3 separate regions of the Homo sapiens genome follow, and all the other regions are linked to region 3. The links are contacts of gene promoters, found by promoter capture Hi-C in human tissues and cell types (Jung and others, 2019). All regions are on one chromosome and are shown on one strand. The core of a region is centred on a gene start or on the middle of the fragment in contact, and the rest is flanking DNA. Distances in the headings are between cores, read along the strand shown.

Region 1 (3,575 bases), core at 843-3,342, 430 kb before region 3:
GCTACTTGGGAGGCAGAGGCAGGAGAATCGTTTGAACCCAGGAGGCGGAAGTTGCAGTGAGCCAAGATAAAGCCATTGCACTCAAACATGGGGACAAGAGCGAGACTTCTCTCAAAAAAAAAAAAAAAAAGAAACCTGCTGCCAATATGCGTTAATTTTCCAGAGGAAAAAGTATTGTGCTGGATTCTCCCTTTCAAGATTAGGCATGTTCATGGGACATTAAACTTTCAAAAAATGAAGAGAAGAGCATCTTAGGTTTTCCCAAGGCAACTCTAAATTTCTCAGCAGGGGACAAATCAAGAGCACCAATTTGGATATTCTTTTATCTGGTAACAACCTCCTTTTCTTCCAGCTTTACTTTGTTCAACTTCTCCCGTCATGATCATTTTCAATCACACTGGGACCATTAGTCTATTAATTTCTCTCCCAACATGTCTGTCATCTTCTGTCTTCCTTTTGCATCTTATCCCACTTATATTGTGTACTTTCAGGATTTATTTCAGCACTGCAACGAGCCTTAGATATTTTACTGAAATCAGAAATGTTCCAGCACTGCACAGATGGCTGTACTGATTAAGAGTGTTGTTTTGTAACCATGGGCTAAGGAGTTGATCCTCTGGCATCTTCCAAAGGTGACCTATGAGCGTGTGTGTTTTTTTTTTTCCTTAATCACTATGGACTCAAGGATTTTTTTTTTCTTTTTTTTGAGACAGAGTTTCACTCTGTCACCCAGGCTGGAGTGCAATGGCACGATCTCGGCCCACTGCAGCCTCTGCCTCCCGGGTTCAAGCGGTTCTCCCCCCTCAGCCTCCTGAGTAGCTGGGATTACAGGCATCTGCCATCATGCCCAGCTAATTTTTGTATTTTTATAGAGATGGAGTTTCAGCATGTTGGCCAGGCTGGTCTTGAACTCCTGACCTCAGGTGATTCGCCCGTCTCAGCCTCCCAAATTGCTGGAATTACAGACGTGAGCCACCGCGCCTGGCAGACTCAAGGATTTATTTTATTTAATTTATTTTTTGAGACAGGATCTTGCTCTGTTGTCCAGCTGGAATGCCGTGGCATGACTTAGGGTCACTGCAGACTTGACCTCCCTGACTCAAGCGATCCTCCTGAGTAGCTGGGACTATAGGCACAGTACCATGCCCAGCTAATTTTTTAAAAAATTTTTTGTGGAGATGTGTTTCTCACTATGTTGCCCAGGCTGGTCTCCATCTCCTAGACTCAAGTGATCTTCCTGCCTGTGCCTCCCGAAGTGCTGAGATTACAGGTGTGAGTTACTGTGTGAGGCCAGACTCAAGAATGTTTAACATATTTGATGCATTTCAGTTAATTGCACTTACTATTCTTTGTGAAGCTTAAATTGTCCCATCTTTGACAGTGGGAACCTCTTCAAGGTGGCTTTAGGGTCTTTTTGACACATAAAACCCAGTAGTCTTTGAAAGTTTCCTTGCTTTCTGGTGTGATGGAGCTTGTTCCCAGCTCATCTTACTTTTTTTTTTGAGTTGGAGTCTCGCTCTGTCGCCCAGGCTGGAGTGCAGTGGTGGGATCTTGGCTCATTGCAACCTCCACTTCCCAGGTTGAAGCGATTCTCCTGCCTCAGCCTCCTGAGTAGCTGGGACTACAGGCACATGCCACCATGCCCGGCTAATTTTTGTATTTTTAGTAGAGACGGTATTTCGACGTGTTGGCCAGGCTGGTCTCGAACTCCTGACCTCACATAATCCACCCACCTCGGCCTCCCAAAGTGCTGGGATTACAGGCGTGAGCCACCACGCCTGGCCCATCTTACATATTTTTGTCCCAGACTGAGAATCAGCCATTTCTATCAGGAGCCTGGGTTTCTGATTCCCTTTGACAGAAAATGGTATTTATAGGCCACAGCCTAGGCATGAGAGATGCTAATTGCTACTAAATTGGTTATGGTTTCTAAGCCTTTTTAGTGGACAGAGCTCAGACATTCTTTTTTTTTTTTTTTTAGGAGAAAAAAATCGTAAGTTCATTTTATTCAAATTTAGGATTACAAGGTTTTTATTTAACTTTAAAAAGTTAAAAGGTTTTTAATTAAAAAGTTTTAAATTTTATTTTGATATCACTTTTACACTGAAAATTTTAGTTTCTAAGTATATTAATGGCCAGGAGTGGTGGCTCACACCTGTAATCCCAGCACTTTGGGAGGCGGAGGTGGATGGATCACCTGAGATCAGAAGTTCGAGACCAGCCTGGCCAACATGTCGAAACCCCATCTCTACTAAAAATACAAAAATTAGCCAGGCGTGGTGGTGCATGCCTATAGTCCCAGCTACTCAGGAGGCTGAGGCAGGAGAATCACTTGAACCCAGGAGGTGGATGTTGCAGTGAGCCGAGATCACACCAGTGCACTCTAGCCTGGGCAACAGAGCAAGACTCCATCTCAAAATAAATAAATAAATAAATTTTAAAAATTTAATATAATTTTATTTGTTACATATAAAATGGCTTCAGAATAATAATACCAAAATTATTACTAACCATATAATTACTGAAAATAGTTTAAAATGTCTTTGACTTTTTAAAAATTCCAGATATATTCTAGTAAGGATACATAGTCAAATTATTGTGTTTTAAAACCATGTGAAATAATCCTTTCTGTATGGTTAAGCCACTAAGTCAATTCAAAGGGTGGATCTATTTGTTTCCTTTTGCTTTTGCTTTTCATGAATTGATTTTCTTTTCCATTTTGATTTAACATTGTTTTATAATTTTATAAACCTGTCTCAGATACTTGGGAGGCTGAGTCGGGAGAATCACTGAAGCCCCGGAGTGTGACGCTACAGGGTGCTATGATCATACCTGTGAATGATCTGCACTCCTGTTTGGGCAACATACCTAGTCCTATCTCTAAAAAAACAAAAACAAAAACACAATACATTTACAGGGTTTGAAATCAAATCTACAAAACTATGTATATTCTGAAAACTTTAGCTTTTATTCCTTCCACCCTATTCCTTCCCTCTCCCATAGGTTACTTAATTTTTTTAATTCAAAAATTGTTTTGTCTATCCTTCCAGTTTTGAAAATATAAGCAAGTATTTTATATCTGTGCATATATATATACACCTTTTAGATAAACAGAAGCATACTGTAGACACTTTTTCCACCTTCTTTTCAGCTGACAACATATCCTGGAGATTGATTGCTTCATGGCAGTGTATAAAAATATTCTTCATTCCTTTCCACTTCTCCATTGGGTGCACTATAGCTCCAGTCTCTCGCAGATAACCATTTGAGCTGTTTCCAGTTATTTGCTATTACAAGTGCTGCAGTGTATAGCCTTCCAGATACTTAATTAAGATTTTATAAGTATGATCATATTTTATGGAATCTGAAACCCCATTGATTATAAGTGACACCATTACTCTATATAACACTAAAAAAGAAAAACACCCTGCCAATTAACTGTAAAATGCCATTGATTGTAAAATGAATCTCAATTTCAGAGCTGTAAAATGTAAAAAAGTGTACATCTTAGCATTTAGGAAATTAAAATTTCGTGTAATCCTCATAACAATCTAAAAGGAAGGTACATATAACTA
Region 2 (3,443 bases), core at 530-3,029, 370 kb before region 3:
TGTATAATGAAGATAATACAGGATTTTATAATGATTAAAATTAGATAATGCTAGCGCTTTGGGAGGCTGAGGTGGGAGGATCCCTTGAGTCCAGGAGTTTGAGACTAGCCTGGGCAACATAGGGAGACCTCATCTCTACAAAAAATAAACAAAATTAGCTGGGTGTGGTGATGTGTGCCTGTAATCCCAGCTATATGGGAGTCTGAGATGGGAGGATTGCTTGAGCCTGGGAGGTTGAGACTGCAGTGAGCTGTGATTTTGCCATTGTATTCCAGCCAGGGCAACAAAGCAAGACCCTGTCTCAAAAAATAATAATAATAGGCTGGGCGCAGTGGCTCACATCTGTAATCCCAGCGCTTTGGAAGGCTGAGGTTGGCGGATCACCTGAGGTCAGGAGTTCGAGAGCAGCCTGGTCAACATGGTGAAACCCCATCTCTACTAAATACACAAAAAATCAGCTGGGCGTGGTGGTGCGCGCCTGTAGTCCCAGCTACTCAGGAGGCTGAGGCAGGAGAATCGCTTGAGCCCTAAAGGTGGAGATTGCACTGAGCTGAGATCTTGCCACCACTCTCCAGCCTGGGCGACTTAACAAGACTCCGTCTCAATAATAATAATAATAACAACAACAATCACTTAAAAATAAAATTAGATAATGTATTAAAATGAGACGTGAGGAGCTAGTGATTTAAGTAAGCTCAGTATGTGTTAACTTTGATAATATTCACATGTAGTCCATTAATTGAGCAATTATACTATGGGGCTGGGCACCGTATAGCTGCTGGAGATATACCCTGTCATCATGTCATCAATGGGAAAAACCGACAAGTAACTGATTATTGCCACACGATGTGACAGATGCTACGACAGAAATAAGAACAGGGTGCTCCGGGAACAACAGGGGAGGCACCTGTGTGACAGCCCTGACTGGAAAGTTGTCAGCAGCTGTCAGGGAAGGCTTCATGGAGGAAGTGACTACTGTGGAGTTTGAAGGTGCAGTAGGAGTAAGCTGGGTGGACAGAGGAACCACCCTGAGCAAGGAGGTAGAGATCTGAGAAGGCATGCTCATTGAAGAAAATAGAGAGCAGTTCTGACAAAATGAAGCTATAAAGGCCTGTAGATGCCAGATCACAAAGGGCATTAGCTTGTTTTGTGAAAGAATTTATGCTCTTTTCTGAGAGAATGGGGAGGCATTGTTGGACGTGTGCCCTCTCAGAGATAAAATTTAAGTGGAGAGCACTGAGTTAAGAAAATATCTCGATATCATGAAATTAACACAGGTTTGGAGCCCCCACAGATCCTCAATCCTGGTTAAGTTCCATGTATGACCTAATCAACTCCACCTCTCTTTCGTGGACAATCAGCAATGACATCTACCTCTCAGGATTATTGCGAGGGCTAAATGAGATAGTGCAGGTCAAGTTCGCTGCAAAGTGTGTGTCACATAATGAACATTTTAAGTAAATATCAACTCTTTTCGATGAAGCACTGTGTAAGTAGAATACGAAAGCTATTGCCAGGCCTCTCCCTCCTCCCTCCCTTCCTTTTCCTCTCTCAGCAGTGCAGGCAGCAGCAGCCAAAAGCCAGGGACGTGGAGGATGTCCACTGAAGCGAGTACTCCAGAGCGATGATTAAAAGGCAGCCGCCCCGAATCCCGGGCGCGGGCGGGGAGCGAGGCTGGGCATGCTCAGTGGGCCGGAGACGGGAGGGAAGCGGGGAGGGGGCGGGGGCGGGGGCGGGGGTTGGGGGGGGTGGGTCGGAGCCGCGCGAAGGCGCATGCTCAGTCTCCGCATCTGCTCCTTCATCCAGTGCCGCAGCCGGAAAACCGCAGCGGCGGCGGCGGCGGCTGAGGGGGAACGATCCAGCGAGCTGCAGAAAGGGGGGCAGGAAAAAATTACAAGGACATTACTGATAAGACAGGAACTGAGAGCTTGGGATTCGCGGCCTCTCCCCGGCCACCACCTTCGCCGTCAGCAAGGGAGGAAGACCCGGGAGACGGCAGCGGCGACGGCGGCAGGGGAAGGAGGAGACGGCGACGGGAGGGAGCACAGAGGAGGGGACGGGCCGGCGGCGGCCTGTGAGCCGCAGTGATTTTGACGTTTTCCGCTGCTGCGTCTCCGGCGGGCAGGGGCCGGGCTGCGCTGGGTGGGCCAGCTCGCCCCGCGCTTCCCCCTCGTCCTGCTCGTCCCTCCGCCCACCCGGGGCCTGAGGGGTCTCCCCGCTCCGAGGGAAGGGGAGAGGGAGGCGAGGGCGTGCGGGCATCGCGATGGCGGGGACATTTTCCACAACGTGATTGTTGAAGGCTCCCCCCATCCCCCCTCCCTTAAAATTCCGGGCCCTTCCAGCCTCCACCCTCCCCCAAGCCCGTGTGACTAAACCGAGACAAAGGGGAGGCGGCCTCGCTCACACGCGGGCTCGCGGGGCGGGTGGCTCGGAGGGGCGCGGGCACGGGGCGGACCTCGCGCGGACGGACGGACGGAGACGGCGCCGCCACATTCCTATGCCCGGGAGCGGCGGCGGCGGCGGCGGCGGCTCCCGCGGGAGGCGGCAGGCGCGCGGCGCGGACAGCTGAGCTTCTCCTCCGTCGGCGCCCGGGCGGACATCGCCCGGGCCCCGATGGTTTGAGCTTGCTTCTCCCTCCCTCCCGACCCCCGTGGTGGCGAGGCCACGCCATGTGAAGGTTAGGGCCGGGACATCCCGAGGAGCCGCGGTGAAAGATGGGGGATGCTGCAGACCCCAGGGAGATGAGAAAGACGTTCATTGTTCCAGCCATCAAGCCTTTTGACCACTATGATTTCTCCAGGGCCAAAATCGCCTGCAATCTGGCCTGGCTGGTGGCCAAAGCCTTTGGGACAGGTTAGTGGTGTCACCCTTTCCCTCCCCTCTTCCTCCTGATGTGGTCCACATCTCGGTTTTTGTTCCCGATTCTCGAATCCCTCCCTCCCCGTGCCTGTCTTCTCGTACAGGTTAAGGGAGATGATGGGAGGCTAGGAAGAGAAAGAAAGGAGAAATAAGGAAAGCAGGTTTGGTCTTCAATGAAGGGCACGTGAATGGTCAGGTGGGATTTGGCCAGATTCCTTTTATTGGATGGCAAAATGTCCCCCCCATCCCCCAGTGAGCAATTTTATGTTTTTACATAGAGTGGTTTTGATTTGTGGTATTTTCTTCATTGTGTTGCGTACATTTCTGCCTCAGTCATAATTGTGATTACACCACCAAGAAATCTGAGTTGGTTTCTTTATTATTGCAAGAAGGTGGATGGTGCATAGTACTATATTGATTTTGACATTTGTAATGATGGCTGCTATTCAGGCTCCGTTGGATGTAAGGTGGCCTGTGTCGAGTGCAGTATTAATTTTTGTTGTCATTCTTTAAGGCTGTATCAGCCTTCTGCACGCATGTTAAGTTCTTATTAAATCAGTTATTTAAAACCAGCGTTCAGTTTG
Region 3 (3,768 bases), core at 212-2,711:
GATGGGGAGGCATATTACGTAGTTGGGCTTGACAGAAAAATCCCATTCTCTTCCCAGTAACCTCCAGTGTTTGAGAAAAGAGGAGGGCCACAGGGGCAGGGCGCAGAGGAGCAGAGGATGGAGGAGAGGGAGAACCCACAGAGTAAACCTGATTGCAGAAGAGAGGCAAGGAGGGAGGGCCTAGGAGGGTTTGATGTGGGCGATATACCGCCTGGCCGAGAGCGGGTCAGGGGAACAGGGCTGACCCTGACCCCAAACTATCTCTACTTGCCCCACGTTTCTCTTGTCCTTCCAGTTATCCCTCATTCTCCTTCCTTCTAGGGAACAGCTGGTAGGAGCCCAGCCTTCCAGAACTCTTCAGAAATATTTCAAATATGCCCCACCCTCGCTCTCAGAACCCACTTGACACAGCCCTCCCCTTCTCTCTGTCACTCCTTCCTCCCTTCCCCAAATAACCCAGATATTTTCATCATTCTCCCCACCAGAGCAAATGCAAACATAGCATGAGTTTCAAAGTCCCTGTCCCCAGGGTGGCACGTCTGAGCTAGAACAACCAGGCTTGTTTGGCCTGTGTCTTGGAGCCACTGAGACCAGGTGTCTTTCAGATCCATTTCTCCCCTTGGCTCTGTCCTCAGCTGGGACCTGCCCCCAGAGGAAGCCTTCCTTCAGCTCACCTCTGTCCACTGTCACCCCCCACCCAACCCAAACAAGGGAGAGTTTTCTCAAAGAGGCCATCGCATCTTTTTTTGGTCCCTATCCTATTCTAAAATGAGGCTGGTGCTTCAAAAACCTAGTGGCACCCCATGATAATGTGGATTTGGGCACACATGGGAACAGTCCCCATGAAACAGGCCCCACCCATAGGTGGTCAGTAGGCATCTCTGGTTGTCATCCAGGACTTGGGTGGCCCACTCAGGCCCAGGAAGCCCCACCAAGTCCTCCTTCTCTTCCTCTTCCTCCTCCTCCTCTTCCTCCTCCTCCCCCACCCTCCTCCTCTTCCTCCTCCTCCCCCACCCTCCTCGTCTTCCTCCTCTTCCTCCTCCTCCTCTCCTGCTTAGCCGAGGGCTCCTTCCCCCAGCTCCTCACTCAATTCTGTGAGTTCACCCCATGTCTAAGTGCCAGGCCTCCCTGGCCCTCCTGTAGGAAGTTTGTGCTCTGTGATCACCCCGAATCCCTCCCTCATGACGCACACCCCCCCCCACGGCCCGGGCCCTGAAGGATACTTCCATTCTACAATGCTGATGCAGGCCTTCCTCAGGGGGTTCTCCAGGGTCAGGCAGAACAAGGCCCGGGGTGGCCTTGGCAGAATCTCAGGAACTGGCTTCTTGGGCTGTTTCTTCCTCAGGCCTTCATCCTGGGGTGAGGATGGCTCCATGGCTTCCCTGGGAATCTGGCTTTCTCCTGCTCCCCCACCCCAGTGCTTTCCCTTCCCTGTGTCCCCAATGCCCCCGCCTTGGGGACTAGGCTGGCTGAGGCTGTCGGCTGAGCCTGCCCTGCTGAGCCAGCCAGGGGGCGGGGGCAGGAGTGGGGGCAGGAGGATTACTCTCCTCGCTCCCAGCAAGTAAAATTAGCCTCCACTCGGCTCCCCGCTGCCGGGCCTGAGCTTCTGAGGCCAGGCAGCTGTCATTCCACCCAGCCCAGCCAGTGACTTCCCAATCTGTCCCCTGAGGAGGGTGGGGTGGGTCGGGGGAAGAACTTACACACAGGCCTGGGATGGGGCAGGGGCAGTGGGAGAGGGAGACAGGATGGAAGGTTTCAAGCCTGGGGCAACAGAGGTCAGGAATAGGTAGCCTTGGATATGGAACCTCAAACTGCAGAGTGGCCCCCTCATGCCAAAATTAGGCTTACCCCTCCTCAGCCCCATGACATTGTCTGGAGAAGGCACTGGGCAGCCTAAGTCAGGACAGCTCCACAGCAGCCCCTACCCATCTCAGTATCTGCACCATCAGCCAAAACTCCCCAAGCATACCCTCAACCCACCCCCACAAGCAATCCCATGTCAGAGAAACAGTAAACCCCTCTCCAGTGGGCTAGAAGGCTCCCAGAACAACCCTGAGTGTGCACACCTCTGGCATAGCACCTGCCTCACTGTGGAGCATCTGCTGTGTATCTTTCTTCCCCATCTCCTCCCATCCCTACAGGTGTAAAGGTTGTGTGCATTATCTCTGGGACTCTGGCCCCTTCTCTGCACAGTCCCCCTATGTACTATGCTCCCTGTAAATGTTCACTGAGGCCAGGCATGGTGGCTCACGCCTGTAATCCCAACACTTTGGGAGGCTGAGGTGGGAGAATGGCTTGAGCTCAGGACTTCAAGACCAGTCGGGGCAACGTAGTGAAACTCTGTCTCTACAAAAAATACAAAAATTAGCAGGGTATGGTGGTGTGTGTTTGTAGTCCCAGCTACTAGGGGGGCCAAGGTGGGAGGATCAGTTGAGCCTGGGAGGTTGAGGCTGCAATGAGCCAAGATCTGGCCACTGCACTCCAGCCTGGATGACAGAGTGAGACAGAGTGAGACCTTGTCTCAAAAAGAAAAGTTCATTGAGGATAGCCACGGTAATCCCAGCACTTTGGGAAACCAAGGTAGGTAGATAACTTGAGGTGAGGAATTCGAGACCAGCATGGCCAACATGGTGAAACCCGCATTCTACTAAAAATACCAAAGATTAGCGGGCGTGGTGGTGTGCACCTATAATCCCAGCTACTCTGGAGGCTGAGGCAGGAGAATTGCTCAAACCCAGGAGAAGGAGGTTGCAGTGAGCAGGGATTGAATCACTGCACTCCAGTCTGGGCAACAGAGCAAAACCTGTCTCAAAAAAAAAAAAAAAAAAAAAAAAATTCATTGAACGCCTGAGCTAACAACACTGAATCTTAAATGTGCTGAGCTAACAGCGAACCCCACATATCCTCCCAGCAAGTACTCTGGGCTGGGAGTGAGAATAAGAAAGGGGCACCAGGAAGGGTGAGGGTAGACAATGATCTAGGAATGAGAAAATTCAACAATCCTTTTATTTAGCTCTTTGGTGCCGACGCAGTGCCTATGTACCTATATGCACGCCCCCCTCCCCCAAGGCTTACAGTCTGAGGGAAAAAAACCACAGTCCCCACCCAACCTGGGACAAAACTAGACGACCTCATGGGGGGGATGCGGGGAGGGAGTAACCCCCCCTCCCAACCCAGGAAGCCAGAGAACGCCACCGGGGCACACAGGTCGCCTCTGCTGAGTCTGTAGGTTCGGTCTGGGCTGAGCGCCAGCAGCAATCTGGCCTCCCATCCCTTCCTCTGGGTTCCTTTCTCGAGGAGTAAGCGTGCTCCCAAAGAAGTCGCTAGTATCTGAGGCCATCTGGTGGAGAGCAGTGGCATGGTAACCGAGGGCTCAAAGTCGGGCTCGCATCCCGGGGACTCGCAGAGACTGGACTGCGCCTGCGGCAAGGAAGGACGGAGCAGAGCCACCTGAGGCCGAGCGGGAGCCAGACCCAGGGATGACCGTCCTGGGGAGCCCCTCTGCACCCCGGAGGGGACGCAGGACGCCCGGAGCAGTCCCAGGCCCTGCCCCTCGCTTCACCCACGGAGCTCCTAGGTCTCTATCGTGCCCATCGTACCCGCTGCCCTGCACTTCCGCCCCAAGCTGGTGGAGGAGGGAGGGTGTCGCAGACACGGGAGCGCCGCGGACCTCCTACAGTCACCGTCCTGCGGCGCATCGCGGGTGACCCAACAGCCTCCCGCTGCTCCCGAAAGTGGGACGGGGCCGGCGGATCATCCTCCAAGCCG

Evidence for each region. Contacts are between HindIII fragments. The study calls those that stand out against the background at their distance.
Region 1: a contact is called between a fragment that was not itself captured here and the fragment with the promoter of CACNA1S in region 3, in 1 of the 25 tissues and cell types used here (heart right ventricle).
Region 2: the fragment with the promoter of CAMSAP2 here is called in contact with the fragment with the promoter of CACNA1S in region 3 in 1 of the 25 tissues and cell types used here (thymus).

Annotation. Positions count from the first base shown.
Region 1 is chr1:200,676,429-200,680,003 of GRCh38, forward strand. All of the region lies in intron 1 of DDX59-AS1 (DDX59 antisense RNA 1), which reads left to right. Among named protein-coding and RNA genes, the nearest start is that of DDX59, 8.3 kb to the left of the region's middle. The HindIII fragment of the contact is 3,264 bases long and covers 461-3,575 here.
Region 2 is chr1:200,737,114-200,740,556 of GRCh38, forward strand. It overlaps CAMSAP2 (calmodulin regulated spectrin associated protein family member 2), which reads left to right and starts at 1,780. Exons shown (of 17, transcript NM_203459.4): 1 at 1,780-2,853. The coding sequence starts at 2,715. RefSeq lists an enhancer at 1,410-1,489 and silencers at 2,130-2,489, 2,520-2,589. The HindIII fragment of the contact is 12,514 bases long and covers 1-3,443 here.
Region 3 is chr1:201,110,965-201,114,732 of GRCh38, forward strand. CACNA1S (calcium voltage-gated channel subunit alpha1 S) reads right to left here and starts at 1,462. Exons shown (of 44, transcript NM_000069.3): 1 at 1,224-1,462. The coding sequence starts at 1,375. It overlaps ASCL5 (achaete-scute family bHLH transcription factor 5), which reads right to left. Exons shown (of 2, transcript NM_001270601.2): 2 at 2,979-3,768. RefSeq lists a silencer at 3,589-3,638. The HindIII fragment of the contact is 14,734 bases long and covers 1-3,768 here.